Regions from separate parts of the Homo sapiens genome. Here all the other regions are linked to region 4. Evidence: promoter capture Hi-C in 16 types of primary human blood cells and fetal thymus (Javierre and others, 2016). All regions are on one chromosome and are shown on one strand. The core of a region is centred on a gene start or on the middle of the fragment in contact, and the rest is flanking DNA. Distances in the headings are between cores, read along the strand shown.

Region 1 (3,244 bases), core at 469-2,968, 3.8 Mb before region 4:
TCCACTACATTCTATTCATGAGAACAAGTCATTTAATACAGTCCAAACTCAAGGTGAGGGGAATGAAGTTTGACCCTTTGAAGGAAGAAGTATCAAATAATTTGTGAACATATTTTAATACTACCATATGAGTTAATAAAATTTAATACACGAAATTTAACTTAATTATTATAAACTGGTGTTAATATATTTGTAAAATGTAGGTATTTAAAGGGAAACTAAGTCTATTAAAGAAGACAATGTTTTAATGTTGTTGCTAGCTTGTTTGCATTTTCTGTCACCATTTTCACCTCATTCTGTCTATTAAAAAATTCTATATATAGTGCTAAATAAATGATGACTTGGCCTATCTTATTATGTCAACTAAGAATTGCATTTGATACTTACAACAGACAATAACAAAATCTTATATAGAAGGGATATAATCTTCCTCACCTAACAACAAATCCAGAAGTGGATAGTCCAGACCTGGTAAGTTGGCCCTCCAAAGCAACCATGGACCTAGGCACCTCTGGTGTCCTACACTATTAATAGTGTCTGTGTGGCTTTTGTTATTATGGGTGAAATATGGCTGTTCTACCTCCAGTATCATGTCCCTGTTTCAGGTTCAAAAAAAAAAAAAAAAAAGGGATGGGTGCATATCAAATGGCTAAAGCGATATTTCTTCCATAAAGCTTTCCTTGAGTCTCCTCTACAGAAATTCACTTTTATTTAATTGATGGTCACATGGCCAGCCATGACTTATGAAAGTCTAGGGGCATGAATATTTTTAACTGGCCACATTGTCACCCTGAAGAAATCAGAGTTCTACTAGTAAAGAAGAAAGGATTTTGGTTTAGACAACTAGTAATGTCTACCGACCTACTCCAACGAGTTTTGACATGCATTATTAAACACTAGACACAAGAGAAACAACAATACTGAGGTTTATGTGTGTTTCAAGTATGTTTCAAATGGGAGAATCTGGTCAGTTTTGAGTCCCACATATAAAGTATATTTTTCAAAGTAACCACAATTTTTATTCTCTAATTGAAAATGTCGAAGAATTGGCTGACATTAATGTCACTTCTAGGAATGTGTTCAAGGAGATAATTGCACAATTGTGCAAAAGCCTATGGATAAGAATGTTCATCAGAGACTTTTTTTATGGTAGTAAAAACTTGGAAACATAAATGTCAATCAATAGAATACTGGTTGGATAAATGATGGTATATCCATTTAACAGACAGTATGCAACTTTTAAAAATGATGTTATTCATGACTGTTGTTCACTGTGCAGATAATACGATCCAATTTATGAAATATTGTATTTATATGTCTATATGTGCTTTTATTCTTAGAGAGATGCCTAGAAGAATGTAACACAAAATTTAAGAAATGGTTATCTCTATATTATGGTATTTGGACAGATTTTAACTTCTTTGCATTTTTGTTTAAATTTTTTAAATTTGTTTGCATAAGCATGTATTGTTTTTATAAAACAATAGTTATTAGCTGGGTGCCACAGCCTGTGCCTGTAATCCCAACTACTGGGGAGGCTAAGGCGGGAAGATTGCTTCAGCCTTCAGCCCAGTTATTCGAGGCTGTTGTGTGCCAAGATCACACCTGTGAATAGCCACTGCATTCCAGCCTGGGCAACATAGAAAGACCATATCTCTTCAAAAAAAAAAAAAAGCTATTTTCAAAGAAAGGCAGGGTGGGGGCAGGGCTGATTTGGTCCAGTATTGTTTCTAGCAAGTAATTTTCCAGGATAAGGCTGTGGCTGACCTTATTTTAGGAAAGGGTTCTAATCTTTGCTCAATGGAAAAAAGTGTTATTCTTTATTAATTATAACTTTTAATAAAATTAAAACGAGATAAGGAGTTGTGAGTTTTGGTTTCTATTTGGAACACTGACCCCTGAAAGAGTTCTCCTTCCATGTTTCACAATGGATGGCAAGACATTGCGGAAAGGTGGAAGGATGTTGCGGAAAGGTGGAAGGATATTGCGGAAAGGTGGAAGGATATTGCGGAAAGGTGGAGGGGGAGGAGGCTGAGCAACAACTGTATACAAGTTGGGGAGGAGTAGAGAATGGACGTAATCATGTAAGGCAGAGAAGTCTGGACCCATGAGCCAAGGAAAGAGCAATAACCTGGACATCAGGATAGCTGCACTTCTCTTCTAACATGGACCTATCAGTTTATCTTTCTGGCCTTAGTTTTGTCATCTGAAAAATGAGACATCTGTATTAGAATCACTACATGTGCTTTATGTTTCACAATTCTTTTGGATATATTGATGCAATGTCCTGAGAAACTACACTACAGCTGAACCTAAGCAAATTAAAGGAAAAATAACAATAACTAATGTATATTATTATTTGTCTCAGGCATTCTAAGTAACTTGCCAATAGGTGGAGGGACCAAGATGCCAGCCCGGGCAGTCTGATTTCAGAGCCCATACTCTTTAACAACCATGCTGTAGAGTACTAAAGAACCGCTTGGATAGGGCATTTAAAGGAAGCAGGGTAGCTTTCCTATTCTGGAACGTGGTCTTGTAGATAATGGTTAACGCCAGTAAAGACTAAACCTTACCCTCACCTCATGACTATTGTGGGGTTGCCTCAACAGGTGGCAGCCTCCTCCCCCTATTCCAAAGACAACTTCCTTATTCAGAGCCCAGCGAAAGGGGAGATAGGTTTTGTTACGCCCCTAAGAAGCTCTTCCGGCCATTGCCCCACAGAACCGAAGTGCTGACAGAACCAAAGACGAAATGTGCCTATAGAAAGCTTTCTGGTATCATTATCTCGGTTCTCAGCTCTTCCTGGTTCTCACATGATGACCCAGCACCCGTATGCATACTTCATCTTATTACTTCCTTTTATTAAGCCCAGAGAGATACTGAGTAAAGAGAGCACGGGGAGAGAACAGAAAAACAAATGAACGGGTTAAGAGCAGGCTACAGGCCACAAGAGTCCTGCAGGGTTAGAGCCTGTACCTCAGACAAAGGTCCTTCAAGCATCCCCTTTCTCGCTCCCTATTGTTACCCTGCTTTCGTCCCGCTCAAGGTCTTGAAGCTAGTGCATAACCTTACAGCAGGATCAGAAATGCGGAGAGTAGCAGACACAAGCCGCAAGGGGGATACAACAAAATCTACTGCTCGTGCAAGATCCGACTTCCCAGACCCCTTCGCATTAGGGCGGAGCGTGCACCCGGCAGCCAATCCCCGCTTCCTCACGTCGCCGTATCCCCGCCCACCGCCCCTC
Region 2 (3,130 bases), core at 631-3,130, 3.4 Mb before region 4:
TCCTGTGAGGGGCTTTAGAAGAATTAGTGGCAATATGAAAAAATATATACTTTCACAAAGCTTGAGTGGAAAAGAAAGTTGAAAAAGGGACATTAGCTGGAGGAGGATGTAGAATAAATACGTTGTTTTAGGATTTATTCAATACATTTTTATTTACCACATTTATTAGGTACTGTTTTACATCCTGGTGATTAAGCAGAGAATAAAATAGACAGAGCCCCTCTGTTTTAATTAGGGAATTGGCTAAGCTGCTCTACCAGGTCCAAACAAACAATGATTTTTTAAAGAACAAAGTTTATTTTCTCTTGCATAATGGTCCAGAAGTCTGTGGTTGATCCAAGGGAGGAGGTGCCCCAGCTCCCTGAGATTAGTTTGGGACTTAGGCTAGTGAGAACAGCTTTGCCTTCCTTAATACATGGCTTCCATTTCCAGTCTGTATTTCTTTTTGCCATTTGCCAGACAGCAAGAAGAGGGAAGAGAAAGTGTATAGCAAGCAGCTTTCCTTTTAAGGGACATGATCCAGTTCTACTCACATCTTACAGGACATAACTTTTTGATATAGCCTTACCTTGCTGAAAGGGAGGCCAAGGAATGTCATGTCTAAGTAGGTCACCAAGTGCCCTGCTCAAATTTGAATGTAGAGTTATTTCCTCTTACTAAAAAGAAAAAAAATACAGAATGAAAACTGGAGATAAGGAGAAGACACAGTCTAGAAGATAACTATAGGAAAGTAAAGAGATGGCGACGTATGTGAAGTTGTGGTGTCATAAAGACAACAACAAAGGAGCTAATTTATAGGTAGTCAGTGACAAGTGAGCAGTCTTGAGTAAAGGGAGAGTATGAGTCATGTAGATTTCTGCATTCCAGACAGAGGGAATAGCTAGTGAAGAAGCCCTGAGGCAAGAGCATGCTTGTCATGTTTAAGGAACAGTGAAGTCACAGGGATAAAAGACAAACCAGAAGAAAGTGATGATATGCAACAAAGTGAATGAGACATGTCAAGAGAGGAAGTAGTCAAGAACAACAGAAGTTGCAAGAGTGAAGCTTTGGCCATTGAAACTGGCAGCATGGAGCTCACAGGTGACCTTGACAAGTGGCAGTTTCGTGGCATGGTGGGCATGAAGGACTGAATGGAGTGAATTCAAGGGAGAGAGGGGGAAGTGGAATTACAGAGAGCAAATATGATCCTCTCCTTTGAAGAGAAAATGGGAATAACTTGAGTATGTGTTGAAAGTAAAGAACCAGTAGAAATGGAGAGGCAAAGATACATGGAAGTGAAGTAATTGATGGTGCAAGGTCCCAGAAGAGGAGATATACATGGGGTTCCTCCTCTTACTCTTTGTCACCTAAAAGAAGGTAAGAATGGTAGTGAATCAAGATGTTGGAGGAGGGAAGGAGGAAGCAGTGGGAGGTTGTGCAAATTCTAGCTAATAGTTTTAATTTTCTTTTCTGAAGTAGGAGGCAGTGTCATCTCCTGAGTGCAAGCAGAAAAGTTGTCCTCAACTATGTATAGTAGGAGTGGATAAGGAAGAGATTTGTATTGATCTGAGGTTTTGTGTGGGGGTTTGAGGCCAGGGTCAAAACCACTGAGAAGATTGGCAAGATAGTGTTTGAAGTGATGAATACTGTCATGTCTCCTCTCAGTAATACAGCACTTTCTTCAGCCTACATTCTTCTAATGGCAGGATTGGAAAGGCAATACTTTCCCCAAACTCATCATCTTATCAAAACCATCTGCCACCAAGATCATCAGGACTAAGCTCATTATGCTGTTTACAGCCATCACCACCACAAGCCCAAGACCACCCACTTTTAATCATGAACAGACAAGCAAAGACTGTCAGACATCTGAAGACTGCCTCGAGGTCAGACTCGTGACACCTGAGGCAGCACCATTCACTCAGTTTTGGGAACAAAAAACTTGGAATCCTCTTTCACCGTCATTCACTTGGTCAGTCACCAAGCTCTGTTCATCCCGCCTTCTAAGTATTCCCCAGGGCCCCCACTTCTCTCCATGCCCACTCTCCGTGCCACTGGTAACCTGCGTTTCTATCATCCCTCATTCTGATACTCTATCCCTCCAGCTCTCTGCGCAAAAACTGATCATACTGGCCGGGCACAGTGGCTCATGCCTGTAATCCCAGCACTTTGGGAGACCGAGGTGGGCGCATCACGAGGTCAAGAAATGAGACCACCCTCGCCAACATGGTGAAACCCCATCTCTCCTAAAAATACAAAAAATTACCTGGGCGTGGTGGCGCGCGCCTGTAGTCCCAGCTACTCGAGGTGCTGAGGCAGGAGAATCGCTTGAACCCGGGAGGCGGAGGTTGCAGTGAGGAGAGATCGCGCCATTGCATTCCAGCCTGGCGATATAGCCAGACTCCGTCTCAAAAAAAACAAAACAAAACAAAAAACTGATCATACCACTTGCCTGATTAAAAACTTTCGATGACTCTAACATTGCCTTTAGGTAAATGCCATCCAAACTCACTAAACTGGTTTCCAACCCGTTTCTGAAAGCACCTTAATCTCTCCCCACTTCCTCTGCTCATTCATCCATACCTACTGCCTCCTCACTGCTATGTCCTCTCTCCTGACCCGGCACTTGCTCTTTCCCAGTCCTAGAAGGCTCTTCTCTTCCAGTTCCCACTGCCCTTTTCCCTTTCCTGGCTAATCCCATACTCATCCTTCTTGTCTCAACCTAGTGGTCCTTAAGGAAGCTTTGCTGACCCCCGACACCGAGCGGGCGTCCCTCCTGTGTAGCACTGTGTTAGCCCTACCAAGTCAAGGCTCTCCTTGCCTGTTTCCTGCCGGAACCATGTCTTTTTACTTCACTCCTGTCTCCTCAGCATTCCAGCACAGTGCTGGGTACATAACAGGTGCTCAAGACAAGTTTGTGGAATGACTAATGAGTGAATAAATCATTAACCAAACACCTTGGATCTCCTACTACATCATTTGCAAAAAAAAAAAAATGTTTAATAGAAATTAAAATGGACCCAGTGAGCTAGAGTGTGTGACCCTGCTTAAAAACGACAGAGTGGTTCTGAGAAGCAGTCCCAGCCTAGGAACCCGGGGATCCGGCCTGTGGACCCACGGGCAGGGCCTGCGGGGTGCACCGGCGCTTTCG
Region 3 (3,286 bases), core at 31-2,530, 3.3 Mb before region 4:
GCCTCAGGTACCTCGTCTCGCGGGAGGCGCCGCAACCTTACTGTTTCCCCATTCTTCCCGCGAACAGAGTCAAAAGAGCTAGGCGGGAGTCGGCACTAGCTGCTGCCGCGGTGCTGTGGGTGCTGCGTACCAGCTGTTCACTGCTGTCTCGCCTTCCCTCTTGCCAGTTCTGCGTGGGAGGCGCGGGAGTTTTGCGGAATGATACGTGGTGTGGCGTCGGGGTTGTGATACCCGCCCCCTTGGAGATGGGCAGCGGGGTCATCAGTGATCTTGATCACTTTCTTCAGGCTTTTGCCACTTGTTGGCTGAGGGTCGATTTACTCCCTTAGCTGCGTCACTCTACTTTCTCCACTTTCTCCACCTGTAAGAAGAGAGATTGATCCGATTACTTCTAAGACGTTTTTTAGCCCAACCTGGCCACACTGCGGAGGCGCCGGTTCTTTCACCCCGCTAACCCCTCCGTGTTGGCAGCCAATAGAAGCACTTAAGGATGGGTAACGGGGAAGAACCACTGGCCAGTACTAGGGGAGACAAGCTTAAATCGTTGTTAGACCCCGAGCTAGGGTTCCCCGAGCTAGGGTTCTCCCTTCTGAGGCGTGTTTTCCCCATCTGCAAAACGAAGGGTTAGGCGGAATGATTTGCAAGGTCCCAGTTGACTCTGACTTTTGGCCATATGTTTGACTCAACAGTTTAAACCCCCTCAGCAGTCTTTCTGTCGTTGCCCTCCACACTGCGAGACTCTGGAGGGCGATCTGGAGGTCTGGAAGATAACCGATTCCTGGGAGATTTGGGGGTAGTCTCCAATCTGTCCCTGGCTCATCTTGTGACCCGAAGCCGGCGGCCTTGCCAGGAGTATTCTAGAATGAGTGCACATAAAAATACCTTCAAACGGTACGGTGGAAATTGGACAGAAGTTTTAATTGGGTATTATAACGTTGTGGAAACTGAGTCTGTGAATTGGCCCAAAGCTACAGAATTGTCATCGTTCAAATTCCCTTAAGCAAAAAAGATCCGATTTGAGACTTCACGTGGCAATTTAAGATTGGAATCTCATGTACGATAATTAAATGATAGTCTCCCTTAGTGTTTCCTTAGCACTTAATAGGTTTGTCTTAGTTTTACTCACTAACGGTACTTTAAAGGATTTCATTAAACAGATGTAGAATGTGTGTCAGTGGTGTATAAAAAAGTTGTGGTTGTATTGGTGCAAGTCAGTAAAGTCTATTTTATATTACAGCTTTAAGTCTTTTGTACTTTAGCATTGTTTTGCAAAGCAAGTTGATGTGCATTATATAGGGGAGAGTACACACATCAATGTCTTTAATAGCATTTTTTTTTGAGGCAAGATCTCTCTCTGTCACCCAGACTGGAGTGCAGTAGCATGCACATAGCTCACTGCAGCCTTTAACTCGTAGGCTTAAGCGATCCTCTCACCTCAGCCTGCCAAGTAGCTGGGACTATAAGCACATACCACCACACCCAGCTAATAAAGATTTTTTTTTTGTTGTTTGTTTTTTTTTGTTCAGATGGGGCCTCGCCATGTTGACCAGGCTTATCTCAAACTCCTGGGCTCAGGCGATCCCTCCCTCCCCCGTCTCCCTCCCAAAGTACTGGAATTACAGGTGTGAGCCTTGGTGCGTACCCTGTAATAGTGATTTTTTTTTTTTTTAAAGAGCACTCCTGTGAGTACCAGATGTTAATGTCGTTGTTTACCTGCAGTTAGAAAGACCACTTTTAAGCAAAGGCTTTCTTTTAAAACAGGGAGATGAGCAGGAAGATAATTTAAAACAGCTTTTTCGTGTATTTTTGAGTCACTTAAAATATTATAAAATACATGATGTACAGAAAAAAGTATAGCTAGCCGATTTGCATAGTTTTGAGAGAAATGAAATGAATCCATGGGGCCTGTCATTCAGCTGAAGAAATGGAACTTTACCAGTTACCAGTAAATTTTACCAGTTTGCACTTCCCCAATGAAGCCCTCCTTGCTACAGCCATAAGTAAACACTATCTTGAAATTTGTGTTAAGCTTCCTAAGCTTTTCTAGGTGGTTTTATCACACATGCAGGCGTTGCTAAATGGTATGTTGTTTAATATTGCCAGTCTTTGACCTTTATATAAACAGAAACGTATGTATCTTCTGACTTCTTTTGTTTGTTTTTGAGATTCATCTATGTTGACGAATGTACGTAGATCATATTTTTTTTTCTGTTACAGGTAGGCATGAGTGGGACAGTAGTGGGCTCTCCCCCAACCCACTAGAAATGTTGGGGGATGGTTTGGCAATTACCGAATTTGCTTCTCTAAAAATGATAATTCTGCAGCGCCAGGGAGAGGCCATTTCCTGATGGTCCACACCTGTTATCAAAATGTTAATTGAATGTAGACCCGAGGGAGAAACAGCTTCCTGGGCATGCATATTAAGAGACAAAAATGGTAAAGTATGATCTTCCAGGTACACTCCACCGGAAAAAGGAAGGAAGCCTCAGATGGGCGTGCATGTAACTCCCTAAAAACACTTCCCAAGGCTAAGGAGGGCTCTGTGCCTGCCGGCAGCCTATCCTAAGGAAAGAATCATGGGAAATAGACAAGCTTGTAAAAGTCCTAGGATCAGGGCCGGGCGCGGTGGCTCACGCCTGTAATCCCAGCACTTTGGGAGGCTGAAGCGGGTGGATCACCTCAGATCAGAAGTTCAAGACCACCCTGGTCAACATGGTGAAACCCTGTCTCTACTAAATATACAAAAAAGTATCCAGGCGCGATGGCGGGGGCCTGTAGTCCCAGCTACTCGGGAGGCTGAGGCAGGAGAATGGCGTGAACCCGAGAGGCGGAGCTTGCAGTGAGCCGAGATCGCGCCACTTCACTCCAACCTGGGCCACAGAGCGAGACTCCCTCTCAAAAAAAAAAAAAACAAACAAACGAAAAAAAAAGGATCAACGGTTAAATCGGACACTTGACCTACTCTCTTTAACCTTCACATTCCCGCTTGGGTCTCTAACAAGCACACCTTCCTTTCTTCCTGTTTTAAGGCCTTTTAAAGTAAACTTCCATTCCTGCTCTGGAACTTGCCTGGGTCTCTGTTTCTGCTTTATGCCCCTCAGTCAAATTTTTTCGTCTGAGGAGGCAAGGACTGAAGTTGCTACTGACCCGTGAGGATAGGCCACCGGTAACTTGGGGTAACTTGGATCTCTGCCACTAGTAAAAAAATGATTTCCCCAAATGGTGGTACCAGTTTACTCTCTTACCTGGAGTATAAGACAGTTTACAGTTATTGTATATTCTTGGC
Region 4 (2,840 bases), core at 55-2,554:
TGTTGCTCCAGTAGCTCCAGTTCCAATAAATACAAAGAGGGGGATCAACTAAACCAAACACAAAATAGAATAACCATCTTCAAATACTTAAAACACTGGCCAACGAGAGATTACAGTAGTTTCTGCACATTGATTTCCAAGTCTCAAACTGTTATTGGACTGTTTTGTCTTAAAATTTAAATAAAGTAGATCTTACATTGAGGTAAGATTTCTTATAACTGTGTTCTAAAGAAAGAAATGGAATTTGGAAAGGATGTTAAGATGACTCTGGTTTAAGTGTCTTACTTTTTAATGTGGAGCAAATTATAGGTACATTTTTAAATTTCCAAGAAAATGTATCGAGTCTTCTTCACCTCTCTAATATTTACATGTCATTCCCATTAAATTTTCTGGCTTCCTTTATCCTGGGGCTTGAAAAACAAATTCTTTGCAAATTATTTAAGGGTGCCTCTATAAAGATGTATGAAAAATAGAATCTGAATAAGTAAACGTATCTATTACAAATACTGGCTTTAAGCATTATCTCTGAAAACGTAATGCTACCAATGCTTGCTGCGTATTTAGGGAACCGGATTTAAGACAGATTAAAGATTGCATAGACTTTTAGCTCTACAGCACATTGATGTGCTGAGGAAAAATGAGATGCCAAAGAACTTAACTGCAATTTCCACACTTCGAAATTTTCCCAAAAGCAACGACGTCCAGACAAAGTGAGGATTCCAAGATCACGGACCCCTCTTATTTACCAAAAGGCCTGGTGGTGCAATGCGGCGAATACAAGAACCTCCAGAGATGGTATAACACATAGGGAACCTGACCTATGCTAGTCTCTGACCCACACAGCGCACATCTATCCCTCCTGGACCGCACAACCTGCAAAAGAGAGCGGCCACCAGACTGTTCCAATATTCACTAACTAGAAAAAACTAGGTTTTTTTTCCGAGCAGTGTCCGTCTCCTTCCTCCTGTCAGACAAAACCCCACAATGCATGGCGTAGAGGGTCACAGAGGCCTGGGACAACTAAGATGACAAACACTAGGCGAGGCAGGGTCTGGTCTGACGGACGGTAAGTGGCTGTAAATGAGGACGTTCCCAGGGAACAGAAAGAGGCGCACCCCGACGCAAGAAGGACAAGGGAAAACATTAGGAGAGCGGTCACGAACTTACGCTCGGATGCTTCTTGGCCTGACCGATGATCTGGCGGAGCATGTTTGCGGCAGAGGTCTCCGACTGGAAAGGAGAGAACCGACCTAGCCACCAGGCCCTAAGCTAAAAATTATCTGCAATGAGACACTACGGACTTCCAAAGTCACCCAGGACCTCCTACCTGAAGGACCCTTGGCTGGGAGGGCAGCTTGCGGCAGGAGGGCCCGGATGCGACTGTCTTTAATAGTGCCTGCTTAGATCTAACCCCTCATATGTTCGTCCTGACCTGGTCGGACCATCATCATTCCACTTCATAGTGAAATGCCTTCATTGCCGTGCCATGCATATTTCTGAGGGGAATTTTTTTGGTCGAAACGAGGACTCTTCGATTGACCAGACAGGCACTTTCCAAGGGTGCCACGTACTGAGGAATGCGGTCGGAGCGTGGGCGCACGGGCCGCGCGCTCCGTGAGTAGGGGGCCTCTCCCGCGGCGCCTGAGAGCCGGGTCCGCGCGCAGAGGCCCTGGGGGCGCGCGTGCCGGGTGCGCGCTGGCCAGCTGTGACTGCCGCTGAGGGAGCTGCGCGGCGCCTCTGGGAGCCGAGCGCCGGGCGCCTGGAGGGCAGGTCGGGCCTCTTGCCGCTAAGGTCAGCGGCTGCGGTTTGAGAAGACTGCAGCTGCTTCCTGTGTTACGCTGTCGCAGACAAGCAGAAGTTAAAAACTAGTAAATGACTTAAAGGTGATAATAGTCCTGGCAGTGTATTTCTGAACCCTCAGATCCTGGCCCTCGGTTGAAAGTTCGTCGCCACAAAGACCTTTCCAACACGCCACTATCCCCCGTCCCTGGTCCCAAATTGCATCTTTAAAATGTGTTTTCAATGGTCGTGTAGCTACAGATAATCTTTCCCACTACCCCAGTCGAATTTTCATTTGTCTTTTGTTTTGTTTTCTTCGTTGTTTTTTTTACCCGAAGGACTTCCATAGGACAGGCTTTGCGGGGGAGGGTGGGGGGATTGGGATAAAATGTACACTCTGAACCCTCTCCAATCTCATACGTAGCTTAAAGCATTAATCAAATGATCAAGCAAGTATTAATAATTGGGACTAGAAATCATAGGAGAAGGCTCCACCGGAAGTTACACTAGCTCTGAAGGAGGAGCGGACATTAACCAGGTGAAAACGGAGGATGCAGGTGTACAGGGCGGAGGTAATAACACGTGAAGGTCTGAAGCTATTGAAAACCCGAGGGAGCTGTATGAGGTCTAGTGTGGCTGGAAAGTAAAAGGGAGAGCAAGGTGGGGATCAGATCTGCTGGGCCAATAACCGCTTAAACATCATGGGTTTTATGTTGAGAGCTTGGGAAGGTTGTGTTTTTAAATGATTGCTTTGTGAATAATTGATTAGAAGGGATAAGCGTGAGAGGGGAAAGACCTATCAAGGGGCCATTGCAATAGTCCATAATCTGTGTGACAGATAATGGTAGCTTGAACTAGTGTAGAGAATGTAATGATGAGAAAAAAAGATTCCAGAGATGTTTAGAAGGTGGCACCAACAGGACTTGGTGGTTGGCTCTCCAGGAGTGAGGAGAGAGAAGTTAAGAATAATTTCAGAGGTTCAGTTTTGAGCAGCTCTGTGGTTGTTGATGCCAGTTATTGAAATAAGCCGTAGAGAATGATGTATAAGTGCCTATGTAAAA

Evidence for each region. The method cuts DNA at HindIII sites, captures the fragments that hold promoters and counts their contacts. A CHiCAGO score of 5 or more calls a contact.
Region 1: a contact is called between a fragment that was not itself captured here and the fragment with the promoter of COXFA4 in region 4, in 1 of 17 cell types (fetal thymus). The highest score is 6.3, in fetal thymus.
Region 2: a contact is called between a fragment that was not itself captured here and the fragment with the promoter of COXFA4 in region 4, in 2 of 17 cell types (non-activated CD4 T cells and activated CD4 T cells). The highest score is 10.5, in non-activated CD4 T cells.
Region 3: a contact is called between a fragment that was not itself captured here and the fragment with the promoter of COXFA4 in region 4, in 1 of 17 cell types (total CD8 T cells). The highest score is 5.6, in total CD8 T cells.

The regions. Positions count from the first base shown.
Region 1 is chr7:7,179,251-7,182,494 of GRCh38, forward strand. It overlaps a transcript of C1GALT1 not described here. Among named protein-coding and RNA genes, the nearest start is that of C1GALT1, 1.7 kb to the right of the region's middle. RefSeq lists a silencer at 3,034-3,244. The HindIII fragment of the contact is 2,093 bases long and covers 673-2,765 here.
Region 2 is chr7:7,563,669-7,566,798 of GRCh38, forward strand. MIOS-DT (MIOS divergent transcript) reads right to left here and starts at 2,397. Exons shown (of 5, transcript NR_110084.1): 1 at 2,246-2,397; 2 at 569-656. RefSeq lists a silencer at 3,037-3,130. The HindIII fragment of the contact is 1,676 bases long and covers 1,043-2,718 here.
Region 3 is chr7:7,640,815-7,644,100 of GRCh38, forward strand. RPA3 (replication protein A3) reads right to left here. Exons shown (of 8, transcript NM_002947.5): 5 at 1-361. It overlaps UMAD1 (UBAP1-MVB12-associated (UMA) domain containing 1), which reads left to right. Exons shown (of 4, transcript NM_001302348.2): 1 at 1-7. Among named protein-coding and RNA genes, the nearest start is that of UMAD1, 1.7 kb to the left of the region's middle. RefSeq lists enhancers at 1-58, 99-148, 229-398. The HindIII fragment of the contact is 1,494 bases long and covers 534-2,027 here.
Region 4 is chr7:10,938,849-10,941,688 of GRCh38, forward strand. It overlaps COXFA4 (cytochrome c oxidase associated subunit FA4), which reads right to left and starts at 1,305. Exons shown (of 4, transcript NM_002489.4): 1 at 1,168-1,305; 2 at 1-48. The coding sequence starts at 1,209. LOC107986767 (a long non-coding RNA gene) reads left to right here and starts at 1,408. Exons shown (of 3, transcript XR_001745091.3): 1 at 1,408-1,883. RefSeq lists enhancers at 1,288-1,557, 1,442-2,362 and a silencer at 1,588-1,837. The HindIII fragment of the contact is 7,174 bases long and covers 1-2,840 here.